2 separate regions of the Homo sapiens genome follow, and region 1 is linked to region 2. The links are contacts of gene promoters, found by promoter capture Hi-C in human tissues and cell types (Jung and others, 2019). All regions are on one chromosome and are shown on one strand. Each heading gives the region's core, a stretch centred on a gene start or on the middle of the fragment in contact. The rest is flanking DNA. Distances are from core to core; before and after follow the strand shown. Region 1 holds the start of FKBP1A (FKBP prolyl isomerase 1A). Region 2 holds the start of FAM110A (family with sequence similarity 110 member A).

Region 1 (7,082 bases), core at 875-3,374, 560 kb after region 2:
CCCGCGAGAAAAACACACACTTCAAGAGGCACTGGAAACCCTGATGGTGTTCTGGGTCTCATGACCATCTGTTCTCATAGGAAAAGGCTCCAGACATGCTGTGTGGGGATATTTCACAAAGAGACATGGTGAAGTGCGGCACTGCCTACATGCTGGGGTCCAGTCCTGTTGGCAGCACCAGAACATGGGCGAGCATGAGGGGCAGACGTGGGAGTGGGACACATGCTGCCAAGCACCCTAGTGTGGCTATGTACAAGCTAGGGTGGGGAGGGGGTGCGGCAGAAGGCAGCTCCTCACGGCTTGAGTCCCAATCTTTGCCCCAGTTGGCTGCGGAACTGAATGAACTGCCCACTCACCCCAGCACTGTAAATGGTTACTCTCCTCATCCTTCCGATGACAAATCACCAAAAGGATGCGCTTTCATCTACCAGACCTCCCAGGCTCAGGTGCTGACTGTGGCCTACAAGGACAGCTATCTAAAACATCAAAAGCACTTTCCAGCTTCCTTCACGGACATGAGACTGCCTGCTCCCCAGAAAGATGGGTTTCAGTAACTCCTCCTTTGGCAGAATTTTTAAAGTTCTAGTCCTTAACTTCTACCTCCTGCCCCCATTTCTACCCACGGGGAAGGGCCACAGAAATAAAAGGGCATGGGAGGGGGGATGTTAGTTGCCTTTTCCTCTTTCCAGTGAAAGTCATTTCCCTCAATAGAGGGATCCCTCCATGTTTCCATGATTTGGAAGAGAAAGGTGGAGCTTATTCGTGAGCAACTTGGCCAGAACTGCCCACAGCCTACTACCCAGGAGGAGGAAGAGGAGGAGAGGGAGTGGGAAAAAAAGAGGGAGGAGGAGGGGGAACAGAGGAAAGGGTGGGAAGGTTGAGAAAGGGGAAGGAGGAGGGGGAGGGAAGGTTATTCGTATCAACAACTGTGGCTACACCAATCACTGCCACCCTTGTGGGACCCACAGCCACTGAGTCTCCGCCAACTCAGCTCTCCCCCTCCCCCGCCCCCATACAAACCAGGACAAGCTTGTAAGGAGAAGGAGTAAGACAGCCCCAAGGCACACGACTCTGATGTCTGAATTCTGGCTGGGGAGGGGGAGGTGTCTAAAATTTCCTTTGGCTTGTATTATCACTATGTATTAGCCTCCAGATGCTTATCTTTAAAATGAGGACGAGAAAAGTCTCTACTTCTAGAAGAGCTGGGGGACTAAATTACACGTGCAGCTTTCGGTCAGCCTGAGCCAGCGCTGTCACTGAGCCTTGGATTTGTAAGTGGCTCAAAAGTAAAAAGACGGAAGAAGGCCGTGCAGCTCTACTTCCCCCAAGGCCAGGAAGGGCCAAAGCAATGACTTAGGAAGTGGGATGTTTCCCCACCCTAGGCAAAGGGGCGAATTCCGAGTTCCCCGGAGGAAGCAGCAGCTCTGCAGACTCGGAATTACCTCGTCCTCATCTCCAGTGAAGGGAGGGATGGAAGTGGGGGCAGGGGCACAGAAATGGTACAAATCCTTCCTAATGGTCCCTGGCCAGAGCTCTGCCCATTCCTGAAAGTGTGACCTTGGGAAAGTGAGACCTTGGGAAAGTGACTTCGCCTCGCCAAGCCTCAGTTTCCTCATCTGTGCAGCGGGCATAAGGGCAGCATCTAAGGTGCAGAAATGCTTCTGACGGGTCAGATAACACCTAGCCCGCAGCCGACGCTCACAGCCGCCGATTCAGACCCGCCCGGGTTCCGCAAGCCCCAGGCTGCCCCTGAGCCACCGCCCAGGCCTCAGCCTCGGGCCATGCGGACCTCGCCGCCGCCACGCCCCGGACCCCAGGCCCCGGGCCCCCAGGCCTCGACGGCCAGCCGCACCCGGGCTGCGGACTGCGGCCCGGGCCCCCTCCCCGCTGGGCCCCCGACTCACCGGTGTAGTGCACCACGCAGGTCTGGCCGCGCTTGGGGAAGGTGCGCCCTGAGGAGACAGAGACGGGCATGCTGAGCCGATGCGCGCGGCGGCAGAGGTACTCCGAGCCGCCGCGCGCCACTACTCACCGTCTCCTGGGGAGATGGTTTCCACCTGCACTCCCATGGCGGCGGCGGACGCTGAGCGGGCGGGCGGCGCGACGGGCGGCGTGGACCAACAGCGACCTGGCGGCGGTTCCACGGCTCTGCCTAGTACCTCGGCGCGTCGCCTGCGCACGCGCACGCCCCCTCACGCCCAGCCCTGCGTGCGCGCCCCACACGGCGCGCGACGTCCCGGAAACCCAGGCCTCCGGAAGAGGGACCGGAAGCCCAGAAGCCCCGAGACCTCCGGAAGCCCGGAGGCCTCCGGATACAGCTGTGTTTGCCGGGTGACTTGCTTCGTTCTCCTGCCCTTCCTCTGTGCTTCCAGCCGGTTAAGCATCTCCCTGCCCAAAGAATGGGAGTAATAATAGGGGGTCCGCCAGTCACTGACTGGGTGACTGTCATCAGGTTTCCACTTAGAAGCACACAGTTACTCATCCTGGGAAGAGCATGGTTCTGAGAAGACAGCGCACAGGTGGTGGTAGTATGTTAGTATTTTATAAGTGGCTCAAGGTTGTAAGTTCTGCTTTTCTTCACTGGAGGAGGAGTTGTCCAAATTCATTCACTCACCCATAGCTTACATGCATACATTCTTATTGAGCATGTGAAAGTTGATAATACGAATTGGGTCACTCTTCTTATGCCCAACGGAATCAGAATCCAGGGGCCAGGGGAAAAGCACTGGAGGCACGCAGCGCCTGCTCCAAGAACCAATATTTCCACTAACTGCTGCGGAAATGGCCTGCTGTCCCCCTGAGACCAGATTCAGCTAGTAACTGCTGAAACAACCCGCCATAACCTAATACTAGTTTTACTTACCACTGTCAGTCACCAATCAGAGCTTGCCAGCTCCCTGAAACTTTACTAGTGCCAATGCATTTCCCTTTCTAATAAAACGCCCAGCCTTCTCTTTGTTTTTCGGACATACCAAAGACCACCAGATCTGTGTGTATGCTCCGAGTTGCGATTCTCGCTTCCCCAAATAAAACATTACATTTAGAGATTCATCTCCATATTTTATTTTGACTTTGACAAGCACCTTCTGTATGTCATGTACTGTGCTAGGTGCTGAGGATACAGCGGTGAAGGAGTCAGACTTAGTCCCTGACCTCACAGAATCTACGTATGATGTGGGAGAGATAATCAAATAACCTGTTTAAGTAAAAAAAGATACGGAATAAATGTAAAGTTTCAAATCTGTAATATTATGAGACAGTAATACATGCTGTGAGGGGCGTGTTAATATAACAGAGATGCCTCACTTAGTCTGGAATGTGGTCAGATATTTCCCTGAGTTAGCCAGGTTTAGCCAGGTTTAGCCAAGGTTAGAAGGCCAATTGTGTGTATGTGTTGGGGTAAGGGGAGGCAGAAGGAGCAGTACCTGCAGAGGCACTGTAACGCAAGAGAACACTGTGACATGGTCTAGGACATAAGGAGGCACATGTGACTAATCTTTCTCTGATCTGTGTGTGTGTGTGCTTCTGCATTAGTCGATTCTCACACTGCTATAAAGAATACCTGAGGCTGGGCACGGTGGCTCATGCCTGTAATCCCAGCACTTTGGGAAGCTGAGGCGGGCAGATCACTTGAGGCCAGGCGTTCAAGACCAGCCTGGCCAACATGGTGAAACCCAGTTTCTACTAAAAATACAAAAAAATTAGCCAGGCATGGTGGCACAGGCTTGTAATCCCAGCCACTTGAGAGGCTGAGGCATAAGAATTGCTTAAACCAGGAGGCGGAGGTTGTAGTGAGCCAAGATTGCACCTCTGCATTCCAGCCTGGGTGACAGAGTGAGAACCAGTCTCAAAAAAAAAAAAAAAAAAAAAAAATTCCTGAGACTGGGTAATTTATGGAGGAAAGAGGTTTAATTGACTCACAGTTCTGCATGGCTGGGAATCCTCAGGAAACTTACAATCATGGCAGAAGGGGAAGCAGGCATATCTTACACAGCAGCAGGCATGAGAGAGAGTATGTGAAGAGGAACTGTCAAACACCTATAAAACCATCATTTCTCATGAGAATGCACTCACTACCATGAGAACAGCATGGGGGAAACCACCCCCACCATCCAATCACCTCCCACCGGGTCCCTCCCTTGACCTCAGGATTATAGGGATTACAATTCAAGATAAGATTTGGGTGGGGACACAGAACTAAACCATACCAGCTCCTGTAGTGTTTTAAACATGACCTCACAGTTTTTTGACACCCCAACCCTCATCTATGTCCCCTTTCCTAAAATCTCAGTGAGCTCGTGACTGCTTTGGAAATTTTAATGTAGTAAGAATACAGGCTGTAACAGAACCAAATTAACTGTGGCTGAAAAGAGGCTGAAGTTGCTGTCTCTCTCATGTAACAGTTCAGAGGCAGGTGGTTCAGTGCAGGTAGGACTTCACAGGCTGCCCAGGGACTCATCCTTCTTCTACTTGTGGCTCCCCATCCTTAGAATCCTACCCTCATATGCATGGTCCAAGTTGGCTCTCCAACATATTTTCATCTCAGCTAGTGGGAAGGGGGAAAGGAGGAATGGGGGGTACATTCCCTTTTCCTTTAAGGGTACGACTTAGAATTGCACACATCTCTTCCCGTTATACTTCACATTGACTATAACTTAGTTATATGGTCAAATTTAGCTGCATGGGAGGCTAGGGAATAAAGTCTTCATTCTGGGTGTACACACACCCAACTAAAATCAGAGGTTCTGTGCTCATAGAATGGAAGAATGGAGATCGAAAGATGAAATTAAAAAGAGGGCCCCAGCAGTCGCCAGGACACTGCTTCACACCACCTAGAGAAAATCAGACTGCAGCGAGAATAAATGATGGAGAATGAGAGCAACCAGGGGCGAGAGAGTTCCTGGATTCCGTTTTCCCTGAAGCCTAGCAGAATAAGGCTTGCCTCACATTCATCCTGTGGTCTCTCTCATGGCTCTGAATTGGGTATCGGTTCAAAACATAGACCTGCCTTTGAGACAGTGGCCATCTCAATCCATGGATATAAGCTTTGTTTATATAGATGGGGGTTCCCCAAGAACCTCACATTTGCACCACTTCTTCCTCAGTGCTTTGGGAAAACACAGGAAAGCATGTAGCTATCAGTTCTGCCACCAGACCTAAGATGAATTGGACCTGGGGACAAGGGGCACTTATTAAGCATTTATCTGATTTTTTGAAGTAACTGGGAGAGTTCCTTTCTAAATTAATTTAGATTCTGTTTATATATAGCCTAGTTATTAACAACTCTGTTAAGTAGTTAAGTTCTTTGGGATCACCCTTAGCAAACCAGAACAAAAAACAGAAAGAGTGAGTGACTCTAAGAGATGGAACTGGGAGAAAGAGCAGGAGATTCTGACTTTCATTTAATATCATTCTGAACTGATTAAATTTATTTTCACTCTCTTTGTGTAACAGGAGACAGGGAATCATTTCAGTCTGAAGTCATAAGCATCCCTCATGACAAGGGGAAGTGACTCCCTCCCTGAAGTTCTAAAACCTGAAAAATGGGGGTTGGATTTCCTTTGGTTTATCCTGTTTGTGGTTTACTCAGCTTCCTGAGTCTATAGGTGTATGCCTTTCACCACATTTGGGAAGTTTTCAGCCATTATTTCTTCAGATATTTTCTTCTGCTCCATTCTGTTTCTCCTGTTCTTCTCAGATCCTGGTAACACGAACATTAGATATTTTGGAATTGTCTCACAGGTGCCTGAAGTTCTGTTCAGCTCCCCCCAGTCCTTTTTCTCTGTTGTTCAGATTGGATAATTTCTATTTTTCTATCTTTGAGATCACTGGCATGTTTCCCTGCAATCTCCATTCTGCTATTGTACCCATCTGTTGGGAGCTGAAAAGGCCAAAGGGATTGTGACCAACTCAGCATTCCACTGAAGGATATATGATCAAACAGCAAACTGTTTATCATGAATGCAGGATGTGGGCAAACTCACAACTGCGCCTGCCGCCAGGAGGTTTGCTGAGGGCCCTGGCGCCATGCTCATTGAGATTATCTACTGGGACATCTAGATCCTATTGTTCAAAGACTGCAGTCTTGCAAGCCTGCTGTAAATCAAACTGCTAACCGACAATCACCCCCCACTTCTTGCTATCTCTTTTGCCTAATAAATGTGAAGGGCTCTAAAGCTCAGGCCCCCTGTTTACCAGAAGCAAGGAGCCCCCTGACCCCTTCTTTCAAATATGCTCTCTTGTCTTTGTCTTTTATTCCCATGTTTGCCCCCTTTGTTCAGTCCCCCAAGGTCTGTGCAGGTGACAAGTGGCGACCCAGAACAGGGACTCCAAGGATGTCGGACACGTGGCATCTGAACACAGGGACTTTGAAGACGTGAATGAAGAAGCTCTGCTGGAGCAGAGGAATTGAAATTGACAAGATGAACGGGGACCCCAGGATGAGTCTGCTGGCAGCAGATAGAAGGTCAGTGCCCTAAAGAGGTACTGGGAACGATATAAGGTCAGTGCTCTAAAGAAGTACTTGGAATGGGAAGTTTTCTGAATCAGGGTAACATGAAGCAGAATTTGTCTATTGAAGAAAAACATCATGTGCAGTTGCTTAAAGTTCTGTTGAGACAGTCTGGAGCTCAGGTTAATTCGCAGGCACTAACTAACCTCCTGCAGAAGCCACAAAAGGTTATTACGCATAACCCATGGTTTCCACAGGCAGGCACTCTTGATGTGGAAAATTGGGATAGACCAGGAGAAGGATTAAAACAGGCTCATCAAAAAGGTCCTAAAGTTGATTCTTCTGTTTTCTCCACTTGGAGTCTAGTTCGTACTGTTCTTCTGCTATCTCCTTATTATTCTGCTGGACAGCAGGCTGAGTCTAAAAAATCTGAAAGAATCTGTTGTCCCACCCACAGCTCCAATTGAAAATAAAAAATGGAGAGGGAGGATAAAAATTGGCCTACACCGCCCCCTCCAGTTGCAGAAACATCTGTACCGCCTCCTTTGGTAGCAGAAATAGTGACCCCAATACAAAGAATTTTATGCTCTGCTGCCATAGCTAAGGGGAGCCCTTAGGACCTTGTACTTTT
Region 2 (6,938 bases), core at 3,452-5,951:
CCCTTTAAATTAAATGAAACTAAAGAAAACAGAGCCATAGGTGCACAGGAGACAGAGAGCTGACATCTGGGGCTGATTGCATCTTGGTTTCGAGCTGAGTGGCAAAAATACTGCTAAGGTCAACGTTCTGAAGGAGGCAAAACCCACACGCAGAACCAGCCATAGGCCTGTCAACAAGGCGAGATGTTATCATTGCTCATGTGCTGGGTCAGGATAAGGCCATACAGACCGCCCAGTTCTCTCTGATCTGGGTGTAGTTAATGACAGTTTATCCGCCTTTTTCTTCTCTCTCACCACTCCCCATGGTGGGGGAGGAGAAGGACTGGGAGGACTTGAATACTCTGAATTGGCACCAGGTGCTTAATATAGTCCTGAAAATAGAAGACCAATATGCTGTTGGCACATAAAGATGCCCACAATTCTAGAATCTGAGTGCGCCCAGATGATCTCTCTTTACATGGCCTAATTTGGGATCCTGACAAGTTCCTTCTGCCCTCTGCCTCACTTTCTCAATCTAGGAATGGGCCTCTCGGTTTTTGTTTTGTCTAATTTTAAGCTCTCGGCTGTGCATGGCAGAGGCAAACTTGAAGACGCAAGGGTCAGTGAGCAGGGCCTTTATCCAGGTATCTCAAATATCTCCCAACCCTGATTAAAGTTACATATCTCAGAGAAGAATTTGGTCAACACCATTGTTGTCATTCCTGGTTAATAACAGGGAAGTTGAGGTCTGGGAAGCACCCTAGTGATGTGTTCACATGGCCATGTGCTTCTGTAAAATTTACCAATGTAAGGCATCTTAACCTCATTCTGTTAAAACCACTATCTCCTTTCATTCCAACTTCCCTTTGCATCAGATGATGTTGGGGTTGGTGTGAGCAGTTTGGGCATCTTGCTAAAAGGACCTTAACATTTACTTTGGGTTTAGTGGGATATATTTATATTGTTTCCAGTCACTTTTGTGAAAAATTATTACTAACTGACCTGGTATTGAAATGGCTTCCAGGAATATATCCATACCGAGCATACTGAGCTGACTCAACTTGTCGTGGCATCAAGATTCAGGATCAGAGGTTATATCTCAAGATATATGAATGGTCCTACAGCACTCAGTTCCACAAGACTGTGAAGGAGAGGTTTGAATGTATACACGGAGCCAGCAGCTAGTTTATGGAAAGTATTACAGATGTGTTTGAGACAGGCAGCTAATAAAAAGAATGTTATTTTTCTGCGTTTTGTAACGTTTGTGCAATTTCTCTTTTTTTTTTTTTTTTTTTTGGAGACAAGGTCTTGCTCTGTCATCTAGGCTGGAATGCAGTGGTGAAATCATGGCTTACTGCAGCCTCAACCTCCTGGTCTCAAGCAATCCTCCCTCTCAGCCTCCTGAGTAGCTGGGACTATAGGCACGTGCCACCATGCCTGACTAATTTCTTTTTTCCTTTTTTTTTTTTTTTTTTGAGACGGAGTCTCACTGTCGTCCAGCTTGGAGTGCAGTGGCACAATCTTGACTCACTGCAACCTCTGCCTCCCAGATTCAAGTGATTCTCCTGGCTGAGCCTCCCAAGTAGCTGGGATTACAGGTGCCCACTACCACGTCCAGCTAATTTTTTGTATTTTTAGTAGAGATGAGGTTCTGCCATGTTGTCTAGATTGGTCTCAAACTCCTGAGCTCAGGTGATCCACCAGCCTCGGCCTCCCAAAGTGCTAGGATTACAGGTATGAGCCACCATGCCTGGCCAGCTAATTTCTTTTTAAAATTTTTTTGTAGAGCTGGGGATCTCGCTTTGTTGCCCAGGCTGGTCTGAAGCCCCTGGGCTCAGGCACTCCTTCCACCTCGACCTCCCAAAGTGGTGGGATTACAGGCATGAGCCACCTTATTGTGGTTTCTTGTCTCTTTCTAACCAAATCTTCACTTTATTACTTAATTTCATATCTGTAATTTTTTCTTAAAGAGGTCTCCCTAGGGCTGGACGTGGTGGCTCACGCCTGTAATCCCAGCACTTTGGGAGGCCGAGGTGGGTGGATCGCCTGAGGTCAGGAGTTCAAGACCAGCCTGACCAACATACTGAAACCCTGTCTCTACTAAAAATACAAAAAATTAGCGGGTATGGTGGCGGGCACCTGTAATCCCAGCTACTCAGGAGGCTAAGACAGGAAAATCACTTGAACTTGGGAGGCAGAGGTTGCAGGGAGCTGAGATCGTGCCATTGCATTCCAGCCTGGGCGATAAGAGTGAAACTCTGTCTCAAAAAAAAAAAAAAAAAAAAAAAAAGAAGTCTCCCTAGGCTGAAGCTACCTGCTCAATCTTCTCTTGTGTCTTATAGGATCACAGGATCCCCCTTGCCTTACCTCACTGTTACTCCCAAACAGTTCTCACATGTTTACAAGGGAATGTAACAGAGTGGATCAGAGAATTCATTCTGGATCCAGACCGACCTTAGTTTTCTCATCTATATAATGGGAATAATAGCAGGATCTCTCGCCTTAGATAGTCATGAAGTCCAATGAGATGATGTGTATAAAGCCCTAACACAATGTAGCAGAGGGCACAGGGCCAGGATTGATATTTAGCTGGTCCTCACGGATACAGCAGACTCCCTGTTTATGACAGTGGTTGGCTCTGATTTGGTTGGTGTCCATGCCAGAGTGTACAATCATTATTAGCTATTGATATATTATTAGCTCCCTCCCCTGCCCACCCAGGGGTTTACGCAGTAAGTTCTCAATTATTGGCAATCCAAACAAAGAATAAAAGACACCAGCTGGAATGAAACAGAGAAGCTGGTTCCAAATTGAGCAATTCAGACTGACTGCTATAAAATTTCCTCACCTTAAAGGCCCTTAGAGTTAATTCATTCTAATCCCCCTAAAAATATACTTTTTTGACATGTTCAAGTATTGGAAATTTGGAAAATTCACAAAAACACAAAGAAGAAATTAACTGCTGTGATTATAGATGATTATACACATATACATATGTATTTAATACATATTTATGCTGTACATAGTGTTTTGAAGCATACTGTACTTCAAAAAAATTTGGGAGGGGTGCATTGGCTTATGCCTGTAATCCTAGAAATTCAGGAGGCCAAAGCAGGAGGATCACTTGAGGCCAGGAGTTCTAGACTGGCCTGGGGCAACATAGCGAGACCCGTAGCTTGACATGGTGATGCGGGCCTGTAGTCTTAGTTACTCTGGAGGCTGAGGTGTGAGGATTGCTTCAACCTAGGTTACAGTGAGCTATGATTGCACCACTGCACTCCACCCTGGGCAACAGAGCTAGACCCTGTCTCTAAAAAACATAAATAAACCAATGTTTAATACTTAGCATTTCCCCCTATCTTTAAATATCTTCTAGCTACTTCACTTTTATTTTTATCTTTTTGAGATGATCTCTTGCCCAGGTTGGGGTGCAGTGGCATGATCTCAGCTTACTGCATCCCCCACATCCCAGGTTCAATCTATTCTCCTGCCTCAGCCTCCTGAGTAGCTGGGATTACAGGCATGTGGCACCACGCCTGGCTAATTTTTGTATTTTTAGTAGAGACGAGGTTTCACCACGTTGGCCAGGCTGGTCTTGAACTCCTGACTTCAGGTGATCTGGTCGCCTCAGCCTCCCAAAGTGCTGGGATTACAGGTGTGAGCCACTGCTCCTGGTAGCTACTTCACTTTTAATGGCTGCATAATATTCCTCATCAGAAAGTGGGAAAAATTAGGCTAGGTGGCGTGGCTCATGCCTGTAATCCTAGTACTTTGGGAGGCTGAGTTGGTAGAATTGCTAGAGCTCAGGAGTTTAAGATCAGTCTGGGCAACATGGCAAAACCCCATCCCTACAAAAAATACAGAAAATACCGGGTGTGGTGGTGCACACCTGTAGTCCCAGCTACTTGGGAGGCTGAGGTGGGAAGATTGCTTGACCCCAGGAGATTGAGGCTGCTGTGAGCTGAGATCCTGCCACTGCACTCCAGCCTGGGCGACAGAGTGAGACTCCATCTCAAAAAAAAAAAAAAAAAAAGAAAAGAAAAAGATAAAGAAATAAATAAAGTGTTAATAATTAAAAGTACTTTTAGAGGGTTATGTCATAAGCCTTGACAAGACTTGTTCTGTAAAGCTACCCGGCATGCAAAAAGCTCAATTAAGTTAGCTCCTCCACAGGATGGAATTATATAACCAATCCCTTTCAAGAGGCATTGAAGTTGTTTCCATTATTTTGCTATGATGAATAAGGCTGAGCAATATTAATCTTTGCTCATATCTTTGGTCATTTCCTTTGTAAATTTCGGGACTGCTGGGTATGCACATTTTAAAATTAACTCACTCATCATCATGCAGTTAGGAGAACAGAGAAAGGAAGGGGCTTGCACCGGGTCACATAGGGAGTTAGCGTCAAAGTCAGGACTAGGAACCAGCCAGGGCCCTCTAACTGGAGCTCTTCCAGCTGGGGTCCTAGAGGAAGTCCCAGCTGGCCGCGGGAGGGAGGAGGAGGAAGGGAAAGAACCAGGCGCCGGGGCTGAAGCGGCGGCAGGAAGAAGGTGGGGCCGGCTGGGAGGAGCGGGCGGAGCTGCTGAGCAGCGCCTCTCCTTCGGGCGGGGGAAGCTAAGCGGTCGCCTGGCAACCCTGGCGGCGCGCCGTTCGAACGGAAGCGAGGAACCAATCAGGAAGTCCGGGGCGAACCATTCTGGTGTGAAGGGGGGCGGCGTGCTCACTTCCCCTTCCACGGCGCCCCAGGGACTTTCCCTGCGGTGGGGGCCTTCGACAGTGAGGGCCACCCGCTCAGCTCGACCGCGGAGGGCAGCTCCAAAGGGGACCCCAAAGGTGCCCACGCGGGGCTGGGGCCTCCTGGGCGTCGTTGGGAGCGGCCACTACCGGCCCGGGTCCGAGCTGTCAGCCTCTCCAAAGCCTGCGCGAGAGGAGCCGGGACACGCCTAGCGCGGGCTCCAGGTGAGGGCGCGGGTGGGTCCGGGTGCGACCCCGGGTCTGGGGGCCCCGTTCCCCGAGCGTCTGCTGTCTGCTTTCTCCCCGCGTCGTACCTGCGTGTCATTTCACAGATGAGGACTCTGAGGCTCAGAGAGGCAAGTGTCCCGGCCCGGCGAGCTCTGGCGGAGAATCCAGTTCAAGTCTTTCTGCCCCACCTCGCAGCCCCCTAGTCTAGTCACATCTGGACTTGCCTTGAGAGGCCCAGACGGGCAACTGGTAGTCATTTTCCCAGCGTTTTATCGGCAGGGACCTGTAGACCCCTGGCTGGATCACATATCCCCGCGCCCCACACTGTCCTCGGGATACCCCCTTTGGGCGTCTGTCTTTCCTTCTCCGCAGTCCGGGGTTGGACTCGGCTCATTTGGCGCCTTTCTGTCTACGGGGACAGAGGACCACTCTTTGGGGATCGGACGGGACTGACATTTCTGGGCTGGATGCAGGGGCAGCAGATTCTCCAGCCCCCAGAGCCGCTGCTGGCCTCTTGGGAATCATCCCCAGTTTGGGGAAGGGAATAGAGCCAGTCCCTAAACCAAAGCCACTAGTCACCAGAGACTTTGGAATTGGGAGTGGGGCCGGAATCCCCCCAGGTGGAGCAGCTGACCTAGGCCAGACCCTGCTGTGTCTCCTGGGGACACCCCCTGCCCCCTAGGTTGCTATTGTCAGTCTCCTTTTGTAGGTGGGGAAACGGAGGTTCTAAGAAGTTAAGCCCCTTTTCGAAGTCACAGTCAGACAATGCAGTGGTTAGCTCCTAGTCCCTCTGGCTTCAATCTTAGAATCCTTGACACACAGAATCATGCATTTTGAGAGTCTTCAATCTCTTCATAAGGGAGTTACATATCCTCTCTCCTCTGGAGCCTGCCCCTGGCTTTGGGGGACAGGATCTCCGAGGACTCAGAAAGAAAACAAGGCTTTCTTTTATTCTTTCAACAAATATTATTTATTGACTTCATAAGCCCTGCTCTGGTTCTTGCATGTTTTGGTTTTTTTACTTATTAGCAAATGTATCATCTTCTCCCACTGTGATGCAAGGCAGGGGCTGAGGCAATTGAGCCAGTGCAAAATTTAGGGATGCCCAAAACCTCAGTAATCAAGACTGAAACTAACGTTCATGGACCATTTGTGTGTTCTGCAGGCAGGAGGTTAACTCACACAGCCTTCATGAAGTGCAGTCCTCCCATCTCTCTCTCTCTCTCTCTCTCTCTCTCTCTCTCTCTATATATATATATACACACACACATATATACACACACACATATATGTATATATATGTATGTGTGTATATATGTATATATGTGTATATATATGCATATTTATAAATCATGAAACCACTGCCCTGTCCCTGAGTTGCTCTGTGACATTGAGTAAGTTTCTTCAGTCTCTGGGCTGAGCTAAGAAGTCATGATGGTGCACTCAGGCCTGGGCAGAGGGCAGTCTAGGATAGGAAGTGGGCTTGGCTGTGGATCTGCCTCCCCCTCCCCTTTCTAATCCTGCGTGCCAGGCCCTTCCCCAAGACCTTGCATGTGTTATCTTCCATTCTGTCCTCACTGCAAAATCCTTCATCCCCATTTTGCAACCTCAAGTGCAGACCTAGGCCTAGAAGATCAACTTGGTATCAGTGGGCCTAGATGTCCACATCCACACCCATTCCACAGCCTACTCCCTTCTCCCTTCCTAATGTTAGTGCAAGGCCACCCTGAGCAAGGCTGACTCCTGGGCAGGCCAGGGCACCAGCGTCTGGGAGGCCTCCAGAAATAGCTCAGGGCCTGGTGTGGCTCTGGAGGTGGCCCAGCTGGGTGTCCCTGACCTGGACAGCTGGGCTGAAATTGAGCTGGGGCTGCCCTGCTGGCTGGCCCCTTGCCACTGCCTGGAGCCTTCCCAATCTCCTCTGGGGCAGGCAAGGGCCTCCCCAAATCTAGGCCAGGCTTCTGCTGAAGGGAAAGAAAGAAGCAGGTGGGAGGAAGGGG

What was found. Contacts are between HindIII fragments. The study calls those that stand out against the background at their distance.
Region 1: a contact is called between the fragment with the promoter of FKBP1A here and the fragment with the promoter of FAM110A in region 2, in 1 of the 25 tissues and cell types used here (lymphoblastoid cells).

The regions. Positions count from the first base shown.
Region 1 is chr20:1,390,930-1,398,011 of GRCh38, forward strand. FKBP1A (FKBP prolyl isomerase 1A) reads right to left here and starts at 2,125. Exons shown (of 5, transcript NM_000801.5): 1 at 2,033-2,125; 2 at 1,905-1,952. The coding sequence starts at 2,069. It overlaps FKBP1A-SDCBP2 (FKBP1A-SDCBP2 readthrough (NMD candidate)), which reads right to left and starts at 2,243. Exons shown (of 10, transcript NR_037661.1): 1 at 2,033-2,243; 2 at 1,905-1,952. MIR6869 (microRNA 6869) reads right to left here and starts at 2,032; the gene lies at 1,971-2,032. RefSeq lists enhancers at 212-725, 1,517-2,017 and silencers at 1,752-1,821, 1,832-1,931, 2,132-2,181. The HindIII fragment of the contact is 6,579 bases long and covers 485-7,063 here.
Region 2 is chr20:829,014-835,951 of GRCh38, forward strand. FAM110A (family with sequence similarity 110 member A) reads left to right here and starts at 4,702. Exons shown (of 2, transcript NM_001042353.3): 1 at 4,702-4,938. RefSeq lists a cis regulatory region at 1-483, a silencer at 4,953-5,102 and an enhancer at 6,619-6,718. The HindIII fragment of the contact is 14,108 bases long and covers 1-6,938 here.